Linked DNA regions of Homo sapiens: regions 2 and 3 are each linked to region 1. The links are contacts of gene promoters, found by promoter capture Hi-C in human tissues and cell types (Jung and others, 2019). All regions are on one chromosome and are shown on one strand. Each heading gives the region's core, a stretch centred on a gene start or on the middle of the fragment in contact. The rest is flanking DNA. Distances are from core to core; before and after follow the strand shown.

The links. Contacts are between HindIII fragments. The study calls those that stand out against the background at their distance.
Region 2: a contact is called between a fragment that was not itself captured here and the fragment with the promoter of HSPB8 in region 1, in 1 of the 25 tissues and cell types used here (H1 embryonic stem cells).
Region 3: a fragment that was not itself captured here is called in contact with the fragment with the promoter of HSPB8 in region 1 in 3 of the 25 tissues and cell types used here (H1 embryonic stem cells, bladder and hippocampus).

What each region holds. Positions count from the first base shown.
Region 1 is chr12:119,176,355-119,180,637 of GRCh38, reverse strand. HSPB8 (heat shock protein family B (small) member 8) reads right to left here and starts at 1,707. Exons shown (of 3, transcript NM_014365.3): 1 at 959-1,707. The coding sequence starts at 1,325. LOC105370024 (a long non-coding RNA gene) reads left to right here and starts at 4,154. Exons shown (of 2, transcript NR_134996.1): 1 at 4,154-4,231. RefSeq lists enhancers at 1,355-2,104, 3,284-4,283. The HindIII fragment of the contact is 13,927 bases long and covers 1-4,283 here.
Region 2 is chr12:119,123,908-119,128,372 of GRCh38, reverse strand. It overlaps SRRM4 (serine/arginine repetitive matrix 4), which reads right to left. Exons shown (of 13, transcript NM_194286.4): 7 at 2,894-2,992. It overlaps LOC105370021 (a long non-coding RNA gene), which reads left to right and starts at 3,403. Exons shown (of 3, transcript XR_945429.3): 1 at 3,403-3,476. The HindIII fragment of the contact is 6,642 bases long and covers 1-4,465 here.
Region 3 is chr12:119,229,039-119,233,101 of GRCh38, reverse strand. All of the region lies in intron 2 of LOC105370025 (a long non-coding RNA gene), which reads left to right. Among named protein-coding and RNA genes, the nearest start is that of HSPB8-AS1, 47 kb to the right of the region's middle. The HindIII fragment of the contact is 3,853 bases long and covers 1-3,505 here.

The sequences.
Region 1 (4,283 bases), core at 458-2,957:
TCTCCCAGGGTGGGATGCGGCAGTGAGAGCCCTGGGCCTAAAGCTGTGCATAGGCCCAGTCCCTACTCCACTCCTATTGCTGACTCATGGCATGACTGTGAACGAGTCCCACCTAGGCCTCAGCCTCCTCAGCTGCAAGATGGGCCTACCCTGCTACCCTGGAGTGGACTGAGGATGATTTTGGAGAAGTATAAGAATGTCAGCCCACCCTTGGCACCTAGTAGGTGCTCAGTAAATCATCACTTCTTCTTTCTGGCCTCCTAATTCCCAGACAACCTGGGTCTGACTCCTTGGTGGCCTTGAACAAGTTACTTTAATCTCTCCGTGCCTCAGTTTCCTCATCTGAAAAAAGAAGATAAACAGTACCCACCTCCTCTGGTTGTGGTATTAGCTGAGATATTATAGGCAACAGCAGTTAGCAAAGTGCTGAGCGAATAGTTAGCACTCAGAGTTACCAGTTAGTGTTACTACAATTACTGGTAAGCCTCAGTTTCCCTGTCTGGGACAAGGAGAGGTGTTTCACCGGAAACCAGTTGCGGTTATTAACACTATCATTGTTCAGCCTTAACGTGCACTTCTAGACTCTGTTATGATGCTGGAGTGCACAAAATCCCGTTTCTTCTTTGTTTTTTAATTCTTTGATATCTGCTTAACCTATTCTTTATATTAAATGCCCTCTGTCAAAATATCCAACATGGTTTCTATTTTCCTGTCTGTACCATGATTGATGAGCACCCAGAGGCCCCAATAGCTGAGTCAGGCAGGTTAAGATCTCTGCTGGGAGCCGGGAGAGAAGTTTTCCGTAAAGATAACTTTGCAGGCTGCATTCCTGAGCCCTGAGGTCACCTGTGTCACACTGTCCCAACGTCAGCTCCCAGGAAACTTTCTCTGGCTATTCCCAGGGCTGAGGGCTACATCCCGGCCTCCCCATTCTCTCTCCCTCCTGCCCCTGACTTACCAGACACCTCCACGTATCCATCTTTGGTCTTCACCATCAACTCCTCTGGCTTGAAGCTGTGCACATTCACACACACTTTCCAGGGCTCCCCAGGGAAGGGTGGGGGGGTCCTGCCCTCGGCAGGCACCCCAAACCTGGCGGTGGCAGTGGGGCCCCGGGGCACCATGCCCGACCTTAGGGTGCCTGGCCAGGCGGAGGAGAGACGAGGCAGAGCCCAGTCGGGCCAAGAGGCTGTCAAGTCGTCTGGGAAGGGGTCCATGCCAAAGCCATCATCCAGCAGGCGAGAGGAGAGGGGAGAGTCCCGGAAGGGGTCTCGGCGCAGGCGGCTTGGGTAGTGGCAGGAGAAGGGCATCTGACCGTCAGCCATGGTGGCTGCTCAGCTCAGAGAGAAACAGAGGCTCAGAGAGACAGAACCACCTGCCCAAGGTCACACAACAAGGTGGTGTGGCTGGGCTAGCTTATTCTTCAGCTTCCGAAAATGCTGCTTTTCTGCAGGGAGAAGCAGAACCAACCACTGCCAGGGACGGTTGTGTCCCCTCGACTGGGGTCCCAGCCCCCAAAGGTAACCCCCGGGGCAGATCCAGCAGAATCCCAGAGGGTCCCCGTCCGCACTGCCTCACGACAGACCGGCAAGCCACCGTCCTCCCAGGCTTCCCAGGCTGCCCAGGCTGGCAGCCAGAACCGCTGAGGTCTAGAGCGGAGCCAGGAGCTTAATAAACCCAGGGCACGCGCGCCTAGAAACTTCTTCTGGCTCCTTCTGGGCTGCAAGCCTTCTATTTATTTGCTGCTGGAGGCTGGAGGCGGGTTTTGCAAGCGTCTCCTGTCACAGGAATATTCGGAGGTGATGAACCAGCCCCGGAGAATCCGCGGAGGGAACAGCTGGGCTGTGGGGGGAGCTGGGAGGGGCCGCGTCCAAGTTCAGCCGGCCTCTCCGGACACTCTCTCCTCCCCTGGCCACTCCGCTCAGCTCCGCCCTCCTCTTGCTCCAGGAGCTGGAGCCGCCCTCCCCGAGCGGGGCACTAAGGCCTGGCTATTAATAACCCCGAGCCTGGCTGAGGGCTCAGGTCACCCTCTGGAAATACCTTCCCTAGAGCGTGTCGTATCCTGCCTTTCCCCTGGGGACCTGCAGAAAGGGAAGAGAGAGACAGGAGCCCAGTGGATTTGAAGGATGGCCCTGGGTTGCAATCCCCACTTACAAGATGGCCAAGCTCCTAGAGCCTCAATGCCCTCTGGGGAGATTGGTAAAGGAAAAAAAAAATTTTTTTAATGTGTATATATATATTCATATGACGCTTGTTAAAGTATGACAAGCAAGACTTTACTGGGCAGGGAAACTTTCTCCATAGATGTAGGGACCCCTGCAATGGGATTTTGCAGTGAGGGAGAAAGATTAGACTTGATTCCCAGTAGGTCATGGGTAAGTGTGAATTTGTAGCCAAGAAGCAGGTGGGGGGTCAGCGAATGGAAATTTACTAGGAGGGAAGTCCAGGAGTCAGAGGGATTCGGGCTCAGCTAACCTAAGAGGATTCTTGCTGAAGACAGGCCAGGGTGCTCAGACATCACCTGGGGGACCGCGGAGGATGAGGAAACTAATCAGATATCGAGGGTGATCAGAAATCGAAGATGGGTGGTTGCTACTAAACAGACTTAGCAGAGTTCATGCCAAAACTGAATTTTTCTTTCTTTCTTTTCTTTTTTTTTTTTGAGACAGAGTCTCACTCTGTCCCCCAGGCTAGAGCGCAGTTGCGCCATCTCCGCTCACTGCAACCTCCGCCTTCCAGGTTCAAGCGATTCTTCTGCCTCAGACTCCCGAGTAGCTGGGATTATAGGCACCCGCCATCGTGCCCGGCTAATTTTTGTATTTTTTAGTAGAGTTGGATTTCACCATCTTGGCCAGGCTGGTCTTGAACTCCTGACCTCATGATCCACCTGCCTCCACCTCCCAAAGTGCTGGGATTACAGACGTGAGCCACCTCGCCTGGCCCAAAACTGAATTTTTATAAGGAACCTCACTGATGGGCTTAGGAGAAGATTCAGAAATCCGATTAATGTTTGGTCAATCAAAGCATCTTTATAGGCAGTAACATTATTCCCAGGCACCTCCAGGTTGTTAGTTTTCCTCCTTATAAACGGACATAACAGTAGCCAACTCACAGATGTACCATGAAGAATACATGAGGTAATTCTCTTTCTCCTTGTATTTTCAATTTTGAGTTATCAATTACATAATGTTTGCTATATGCCAGGCCCTGCTCTATGGGCTTTATAAATATGAATTCATTTAACCCTCACCAGCAATCCTGTGAGGTAAGAGTACCAGTATTATCCCATTTTACAGATGAGAAAACTACCATAGAAGTGTTCATGAATAGTAGCTTCTATTATTATTATGACTGTTAATACTGATAATTATTGAAAGATGTTACACTCAGGCAGGAGGTCTGGTCTGAAACTCAAAGCCCCAAATCTAGACTTTCCTGCTCTTCCCATGCAGCTGGAAGAATGAATTTACAAATCCTCCTTTGGCTTGGAGGCCTCTTCGGCTTGGGTTCTAATCTTTGATCTGTCCGCAACAGGCAGAAAATTTTAGGCATGTCGTTTTCCCTGTGTGGGCTTTCGGGTCTCAGCCCTGCCTTCTTCACGAGATGAGGGTAAACTGAGGATATTAAGGAATTCAGTGAGTCATAGGTTGAGAAATTGTTTTGATATTAAACAGTGAGTGCATGAGGCAGTTTGCTAAAAATAATAATACGGAGAAAAACAATCACTGTCGCCCATTGCCTCCTGTGCGTCTGCTTTTAGAGTTAGTACATTTCAGACATTACTGAGTTAAATCCTGACTCGATAGTTAAACGTCACTATTATCATCACCCCCATTTTGCAGGTGAAAAAACAGAGGCACAGAGGTTTGACCCTTGCACACAGATATGGAGTGGCAGAGCCTGGGTGGGAACCTGGGTTGTTCTGAATCCCGGATCTGTGCTTAACCGACAGACAGAGACCCCTGCCCTCCTCCCCAGCTGAGAAAGAATGGTGGGGACCCCACGGCATGACATGTCCCGAGTGACTGGGCCCCCACTGGATGTAGGGTGAGCTCATCAGGCTGGAAGCTTCGGGCTGACGTCATGGCTGGGCACAGAAGCTTCAGCTCTCTCTGTAATTACAGCTGGGCGGGGCTGGCTGAGTTGGAAACCAGTTGTGGGGAGAATCACTGCAAGCCGCATGACGCACCGGAGAAACCTGGCCCTGCCTGGGACCTGGGCAGGGGCTGGGGTGAGGTTTCTGAGTGGGTGGGACAGAGTGGAATGAGTTTGTGTGCGGATTT
Region 2 (4,465 bases), core at 452-2,951, 52 kb after region 1:
GACTGGGTGTCTTCATCAGTCTTATTTAGAAAGAGGGAGGACTAGACCGAGGCTAAGGCTGACTGCCGAGGAAGCAGCAGTCACTCATATTAGGCAGGGTAGAGAGATGCTTGGTCACTTTTGTGTTTTGCGGTGTTCTCATCTGGGCTCAGACTTGATTACAGAGGGGGCTTAGTTTTGTCTTGAGCAATCAGGGCTGCAGAGTGGCCTTGTTGGATGGTGATATTCTTGGAAATTATTGATGTTCAGCAGAAACACCAAGGCCTAATTGTGATAGTAGGTACCAAGGGCCTCTTCCTCAAATGCTTCCCACACATCACCTGGGGGGATTTAAAAATCTCACTGTTCTGGTCTCATCTCATCTGGATTAAATCAGAATGTTGAGAGGGTGGGATCCAGGCATTGGCATCTTTTAAAACTTCCCAAGTGATTGAAAAGGGCAGCCGAAGTAGACAAGCACCAGCATAGCACGTAGTATTATCAGAATGATGAGAGAGAAAATGTATTGAAAATCTTAGCACAGTGTCTGACACAGAGCAGGATTTGGGTAAATATTCCTCTCCTGCCTCCTCTTTCTCCTTCTCCCCCTTCTACCTTCTCCTTCTCCCTTTTTCTTCCTTTCTTTTCTTTTCTTTTTTTTTTTTGAGACAGACTTTCACTTTTGTCACCCAGGCTGGAGTGCAATGGTGCAATCTTGGCTCACTGCAACCTCCGTCTCCTGGGTTCAAGTGATTCTCCTGCCTCAGCCTCCCGAGTAGCTGGGATTACAGGTGCCCACCACCACACCTGGCTAATTTTTGTATTTTTAATAGAGACAAGGTTTCACTATGTTGGCCAGGGTGATCACTAACTCCTGACCTCAGGTGATCTGCCCACCTCGGCCCCCCAAAGTGCTAGGATTACAGGCGCGAGACATTGTACCTGGCTCCTCCTCCCTTTTCCTATAGATATTCTGCTTTATTTGGGAAAAGTGGGGCCAGGGCAATGACATTTTAAAATCTACCCTTGTGATGTGAACGGAGAGTCAAGTGTGAGATGCATTTCAGAAAGAAAAAAGCAGCTCCTCACATCTGGAAGCTGGAGGTCTCAGTGTCCCCATTGAACATCAACGATTCCAAACACCAATAAAGCCCCAGTTCTTTTTTTTAAATTTATTTATTATTATTATACTTTAAGTTTTAGGGTACATGTATACAATGTGCAGGTTAGTTACATATGTATACATGTGCCATGCTGGTGTGCTGCACCCACTAACTCATCATCTAGCATTAGGTATATCTCCCAATGCTATCCCTCCCCCGTCCCCCAACCCCACAACAGTCCCCAGAGTATGATGTTCCCCTTCCTGTGTCCATGTGTTCTCACTGTTCAGTTCCCACCTATGAGTGAGAATATGCGGTGTCTGGTTTTTTGTTCTTGCGATAGTTTACTGAGAATGATGATTTCCAATTTCATCCATGTCCCTACAAAGGACATGAACTCATCATTTTTTATGGCTGCATAGTATTCCATGGTGTATATGTGCCACATTTTCTTAATCCAGTCTATCATTGTTGGACATTTGGGTTGGTTCCAAGTCTTTGCTATTGTGAATAATGCCGCAATAAACATACGTGTGCATGTGTCTTTATAGCAGCATGATTTATAGTTAAAGCTCCAGTTCTTATTCTTGCTCTTCTCCTTCCCTTCCTCCTTCTTCTCATCAACAAGATGCCTTCTCAGGTTGGGACAACCAATGTATTAGCATAGAGAGAGTCCAGGTTAGGAGAAAACTGAGTTGAAAAGGCATTAGAGTGAACTTTCTACTTTGCACTGTTTGGGTTTACATAGTTTGCTTAGCTTCTCTGTGCTTAGAGTGGTCCCTTAGTGAAGTCTAGAGCCATGTTCCCTGATTTCAATCCTAACTGTCACTTAGTTGCTAAGAGACTAGTAAAGTCCTTAACCCCCCCATGCCTCAGTTTTCTCATATTTAAAATGGGGATAACAATAATGCCCACTTGTTACGGTTGTAGAGAGGATCCTGCAAGTGGATGTACAAAGAGCAGCTAGAGCTGGGGGCGGTGGCTCACACCTGTAATTCTAACACTTTGGGAGGCCGAGACGGTTGGATCACTTGAGGTCAGGAGTTTGAGACTAGCCTGGCCAACACGGTGAAACCCTGTCTCTACTACAGATACAGAAATTAGCCAGGTGTGGTGGCGGGCGCCTGTAGTCCCAGCTACTCTGGAGGCTGAGGCAGGAGAATCGCTTGAACCCAGGAGGTGGAGGTTGCAGTGAGCCAAGATCGCCCCCCTGCACTCCAGACTGGGCTATAGGGTGAGACTCTGTCTCAAAAAAAAAAAAAAAAAAAAAAAAAAAGCAGCTAGTATGGTGTTGTCATTCCTATAAGTGATGGCAGCAAGACCTTTTGGTCTCCAGCCCTTTCTCTTGTTTTTGTTTTTGTTTTTGTTTTGAGATGGAGTCTTGTTCTGTCACCCAGGCTGGAGTGCAATGGCGTGATCTTGGCTCACCACAACCACCATCTCCTGGGTTCAAGCGATTCTCCTGTCTCAGCCTCCAGAGTAGCTGGAATTAAAGGTGCCCACCACTACGCCCAGCTAATTTTTTGTATTTTTAGTAGAGACAGGGTTTCACCATATTGGCCAGGCTGGTCTTGAACTCCTGATCTCATAATTTGGCCACCTCGGCCTCCCAAAGTGCTAGCATTACAGGCGTGAGCCACCGCACCCAGGCTCTCCAGCCCTTTCTCTACAGGGAAGTGGTGCCAGCTGCTGAGTCTGAGGAAGGGGGCCAAACCCTGTGCTGGAAGTGTGGAGGCGAAGCTAGTGTTAACAGTGTCTTAGCCTGGGCTCGGCTGTGGCTGACAGAAGAGGATCCTGGGGCAAGGGGTTACCTGCTCTCACAGCTTGAGGGGCGGGACTCCGAGCTCTGGGACCGCGAGGGGCAGCGGTGATGGCGGTGGCGGTGAGACTTTCGGGGCCGGCTTCGAGATCTTGGGGGGATGAGAAGGAACGAGTCAGAGGAGAGGAGAGAGAGAGTAAAAAAGGGAGAGTGAGAGATTTGATCTTGTGACACCCGTTTTTCCTTTGCACTGGTCACCATCCCTCCCGAAGTTCTCCATCTCCCTCAACCCCATGCGTTAGTCCAGCTTCCTGCCTGGGTATTGGGTGGAGGGTTCCGTAACCAATGGTACTGAATACGGGTGAGCAGAAAGGGGTCCTCTGAAGGGAGTGTGGATGACTCAGGGCCCTCCCTGCTCCCCAGATGACACCCTAGGCAGAAAGTCACTTCCCCATGTCTCCTCTGCATCACTCAAGGCAGGCGCCTCAACGTCACAGAGCTTCAGGGGCCATTCAGGCAGCATAAATATGTGGATCAGCCCAGCACTAACATAATATCAACCGGAGGCCCGAGTTAAAACAGAAGGTGCTGCTTTGCCTCCAGAATATTTGTGTGGTGATCCTCTAATTTTTCAAGTGAGTGTGGAAATACAGATTTTTAGGTAAAATGTTCTTATTTTAAATGGAAGCTTATTTTTTTTTAAAGGCACCTTTTTGGGCAAATGAAACACATTTGCAGAGTAAATTAGGCCTTTGGGCTGCCAATTTACAACCTCAGACCTGGAAAATTAAGTCCAGGTTCTTAGCATGGAGTCAAAAACCTTTCAGGATGGGCTACAAACCTCATTAAAAACAAAAATTAGAACAACACCAATTACTACCACTACCACTAACAGTGGTGTTACTGCAGGTTACTTCAGCTACTTCTAAGTAGTAATAATTCAGAAATAGTAGTGGCAGCGGCAGTGGTAATTGAAGATATATAAAGGATGTCAATGGTTTGGGCCAAACGAGAAAGCCAGTGGGAGTTAGAGATGATTCTGTTGGGAGGTAACTTGGTTATCTCAACAAAGGACTCAGGGATTCTTCTAATGTAATCATCAGACCATATCCCTTCCCTGCTTAAAACTTTCCCATTGCTCTCATATCAAGTTCAAACTCTGATCCTGAACCTCAGGCAGCTTCAGGAGCTAGCCCTTGCCTAGTTCTCTGGCCTCACTGCTTGTCTTCTTCTGCCCTGGCCTGGTGGGCTAAAGCAGCTCTGAACTGTATGTATGCTGGCTCACACATTTCCCAGTTCATGATGTCTTAGGGATGATGATGATAACAATGGTGATGATGACAGGTAACCCACATCTAACACATACTTCATGCCAGGCACTGTATTCTAAGCACTTTTCTTAAAGGGATTCATCTATTCTTCATAATAACCTATGAAATAGATTCTCTTATTATTCCCATCTTACAGATGAAGAAACTGAGGCACAGAGAGTTTAAACCACCTGCTTAACTTGCAGCCTGGAATGGTTACTTCCCATCCTCACCTGCGGCTTAGATGCTGCCTCCTGCGGGAGGCCACCAAGCCCTTTTCCCAGTGCCTGTGTTCCCACAATGCCCAGGGTTTC
Region 3 (4,063 bases), core at 330-2,829, 53 kb before region 1:
TGTGCACACATGCGCATAGATCACTAGGCGAGTACATCAATGTTGTGGTTGAGTGTAGGGCATTCTTATGGGGCTATTTCCAAGTGGTGGGTGCATTCTCAATTCTGGGAATTCAACAGTGAACAATCATGTTAATTTGCGAGTTGAGTTGAAATCCTGTCCTCTGGGAGGTTTTAGGCTGTTTATCAGGTCAAAGAAGCAGAACCAGTATGAGTGATATAAGGGGTTTATGATAGGGCTGGGCCTTACGTGACTGTGCCGGTTGGTGGTGCTGCTTATGTAAGCATTGGATGCTGAACCTACATTCAGCAGGGCTGTGCCTTGGTAAGTGATTACGGACATGAAATGGGAGAGAGCAAGAACAACATGGAACCCATGAGGATGAGCTGGAACACACCAAGGAAAACTGGAAGCTGCCTTTGTCCCTCCCTGGGAACTGTCAGTCTCTCAGTGCCTCCAGACTTCTAATCTGAGTGATGCCGTGAGCTTTGGAAGGACCATGGAGCTGCACCCAAATCTGGCACAGACGTTAGAAAAAGTAAAAGAGGAGATCGGCAGGAGGTGGAGGAGCCCCAGCCCTGCCTGCTGTCTGCAATCTCCCAACAAGATGAGCCATCAAATCCATGACAATGAGTGTGAGATGCAGCAGAGCCTCAGCTCACATTGACCCCTGGAGCATAAACACAACTGCTGCTTCACACCCACTTTCCAAGGCTCACCCAAGTTGGTTGGCCCACTTTAACACAGAACACTGCAGGAAAGGGAATTTGGGGAAATGCTTTCAATTTAACTAAGATGACACAATGCAAGGCCACTGTGGCCAGGGAAGACACAGTGAACTAGGGAGTGGCAGTACAGTTGGTGGGAGTTCCAAACGGGGAAGGGAGGCACTGGTGGGTGCTTACCCAGCAGGAACAGTTACCATCTAGGGGCTCAGGCCAGAAGAAGTGATGGCCATGCTGAGTGGTGAAGGGGGGCTTCGTCAGGTGAGGTGAGTGTGGAAGGAGGAAAGAAAATAGTGTGTGGAAGTGACAGGGCAGGGAGGGGAGAGGAAGAAGGGGGAGGAAGAGGAAGAAGAAGGAGTACAAGGAGGAAGATGAGGAGGATGGAGAGGAGGGAAAGGGATAGAGAGGAGGAAGAAGAAGAAAGAAGGAGGAAGAAGGAGGAGGAGAATGAGAAGAAGAAGGAAGATGACAAGGAGAAGGAGGGGGAGGAGGGAGGAGGAAGGAGGGAGAGGCAGGTGAGATAAAGGAACGGAGCTAACGGAGTCGAAGAAAAATGCAAAGACAGTGTCAGAGGGAGGGACAGAGTGATTGGAGAGAAGTAAGGAATTTAAGAAGAGCCTATGTTTAGAAGACAGAATGGTGTGAGATGGGCTAGAGAAATAAGCAGGGAACAATGAAATATGAACACATGCCCACAGAGAACGAGATCAACGCCCTGACATTAACATATATAGACAATCCAGACTTGTATGCACTTAACAATTCATCGAGTCAACACACAATATGCATACACATCTATCCATACAGGGACACAAGAAACCACATATAATTAATTCCTCACTGATTCTCCCTGACTCCCTCCACACCCCAGGGAGGCAGCAGAAGGGGCTAATTCTGATCAGATCACCTGAGCAGGGCCTTGGAGGACATTCTCCAAGATCCCATGAAGCTTTGTCCCCATGCACTTCCTTGGTGGTGTGAACACTCAGCCGGCCACAGCTATCCCATGAGTAAGTAGCCCTATTAGATGTCTCATCTTGTTCAGGGGAGAAATATGACCACTTCTGTCATGAGGGCAAAGCCTGACTGTGCCACACCTGGGCTTGGCTTCTTAGGTCCTCCAGAGGAGACCTTGTTTCTGATGCATTTTACAAGCCGCTTCATAGTGTTACTAATGAATAGGACAGACCATAAAAGCAGGGAGGAAATGAGCCAGCATAACGTTCCCACTGTGAATTTTGGTGAGAAACCCAAAGAATCAACCAGTGGAAAGGACACAGAGCCGCGGTCTTGGGAAGTGTTGTTGAAGGCTGGGGTTTGAAGGCAGAAAAGAACAGAATGGACAACTAGGGACCTTCCAGCATGACTCAGCTGTCTGTGTGTCTGCGTGTGCCTGAGTGTGTGTCTATAAGAAGGAACCATGTGGATGCATATATAGGGGTGCCTGTCATATAAATATCTGGGTCTGAGTAAATGGGAGAAAGCATCATCTAAAACCCCAGGAGCAAACGCTAAGATTTGGTCAGGTTAGAGGAAAATATGTTTCCCCTCCTTCTCCACTTCTACTTCTTGAGAGTATTTTTAGGGGAGGAGGAAGTGCTGAAAAGCTTACTGTAAAGCAAATGAGAGGAAAACTGTTGATAACAAAGTTTCTGCTATTAGGTGGCACAAATGTAATTGAGGTTTTTGCCATTACTTTCAATAATTATTCGTGTCAAGATGTTCACCTGGGTTAGGTGCACCACCAAATCTTTTGAGTAATGCAAAGGAAGTTCCTGGAGTTTGTCTGTGATAGAGATTCACAAAATATTCATTTGCTTAATAAAATGAAAGAAAATTTTGCGGATGTCCCCAGGCCCTGGGAAGTTGGAGAAATACATGTATCAGAGAAGTAAAAGACTGTCTGAAAAATTCCCTGCAGGGTTTGGTTAAGGAGCTTTAAGGATAGAGGCGATGAGTATTACATTGTAGGTTGTTTCCTATTCTACACTGTGCTGTAATTCACTTCTGATGTTGCTAAACCTTCCGTAAAATTCTGTGTATTAGTTGAGGTAAAGGTTAAGCTGCTGTAACAAAGAATGCCAAAATACAGTGGATTACAGAAGACAGATATTTATTTCTCATTCATGAGATGGTCCTGAGGTGAACAGCCTAGGAGTATATTAGACTTTGCTCCACACCTTCACACAGGGACGCAGCTTCCTTCAGTTGTTCTCATCGGCATGATTCAGCTGCATCCAGGCACATTCCTGTGCCTTTGTATAAACGAGCAGGGGGCAAAAGAACACGACCCACCATTTTTTTCAAGCAAGTGAGGCAGTGTTGCACACGTCTCTTTTGTTTATATTTCATTGGTTAGAACTTAGTCACATGATTCGACCTTGCCCCAGGGGAGGCTGGGAAATGTAGTCCCCTGTTGAGCAGCAACGGTTCACTTACGGCTATGGAAGAGAGAATGGAATTTGTTGGAAAACTGGTGGTTTTTATTGTGGTCTTGGACCTAGTCTCTCACGTGGATTATTGTAATAATCTGTCAATTGTACCCTTGCTCTAATCCAGCAATGCCCAAACTTTTGGCTTCCCTGAGCCACATTGGAAGAAGAGGAATTGTCTTGGGCCACACATTATAAAATATACTAACGCTAGCTGATGAGCAAAAAAAAAAAAAAAAGAAAGAAAAAGAAATCCAAAGAAAATCTCATAATGTTTTAAGGAAGTTTATGAATTTGTGTTGGGCTGCATTCAAAGCTGTCCTGGGCTGCATGTAGCCCACGGGCTGCGGGTTGGACAAACTTGCAGTCTAATCAGTGTATTTTGAAAACAATACTGCTGCTAAAATGTGATTCTCTCCTCAGAACTCCCCAGTGGCCTCTGGTGTTCTCTTGGAGTAAAAGCCAATGTCTTTGGAACTGCTTATCAAGCCCCACATGACCCCACCCACCACCCAGTTCTAATCTCATCCCCTCCCACTCACCTCCTTGCTCATTCCCTCCAGCCACACTGTCTTGTTTGCCTTCTTCAAACATGTCAGGCAACTACCTACCTCAGGGCTTTTGCACTGTTGAACCTTCTTCCTGAAGCACTCTTTCTCAGTTAGCCATTATTTCCTCACCTCCTTCAAGTCTTTATTCAAATGCCACCTTCTCATCCAGGCCTTCTCTGACCCCAACCATTTAAAAAGGCAACTCCAACCCCTGATACTCTCTGACTTCCTTCCCCTGGTTTTTCTCCATAGTACATATTACCAACATATATACATATACATAGGTATACATGTTTATATATGTATACATGTTTATACATGTATATAATTTTGATGTAATAATTAGTAGTCAATA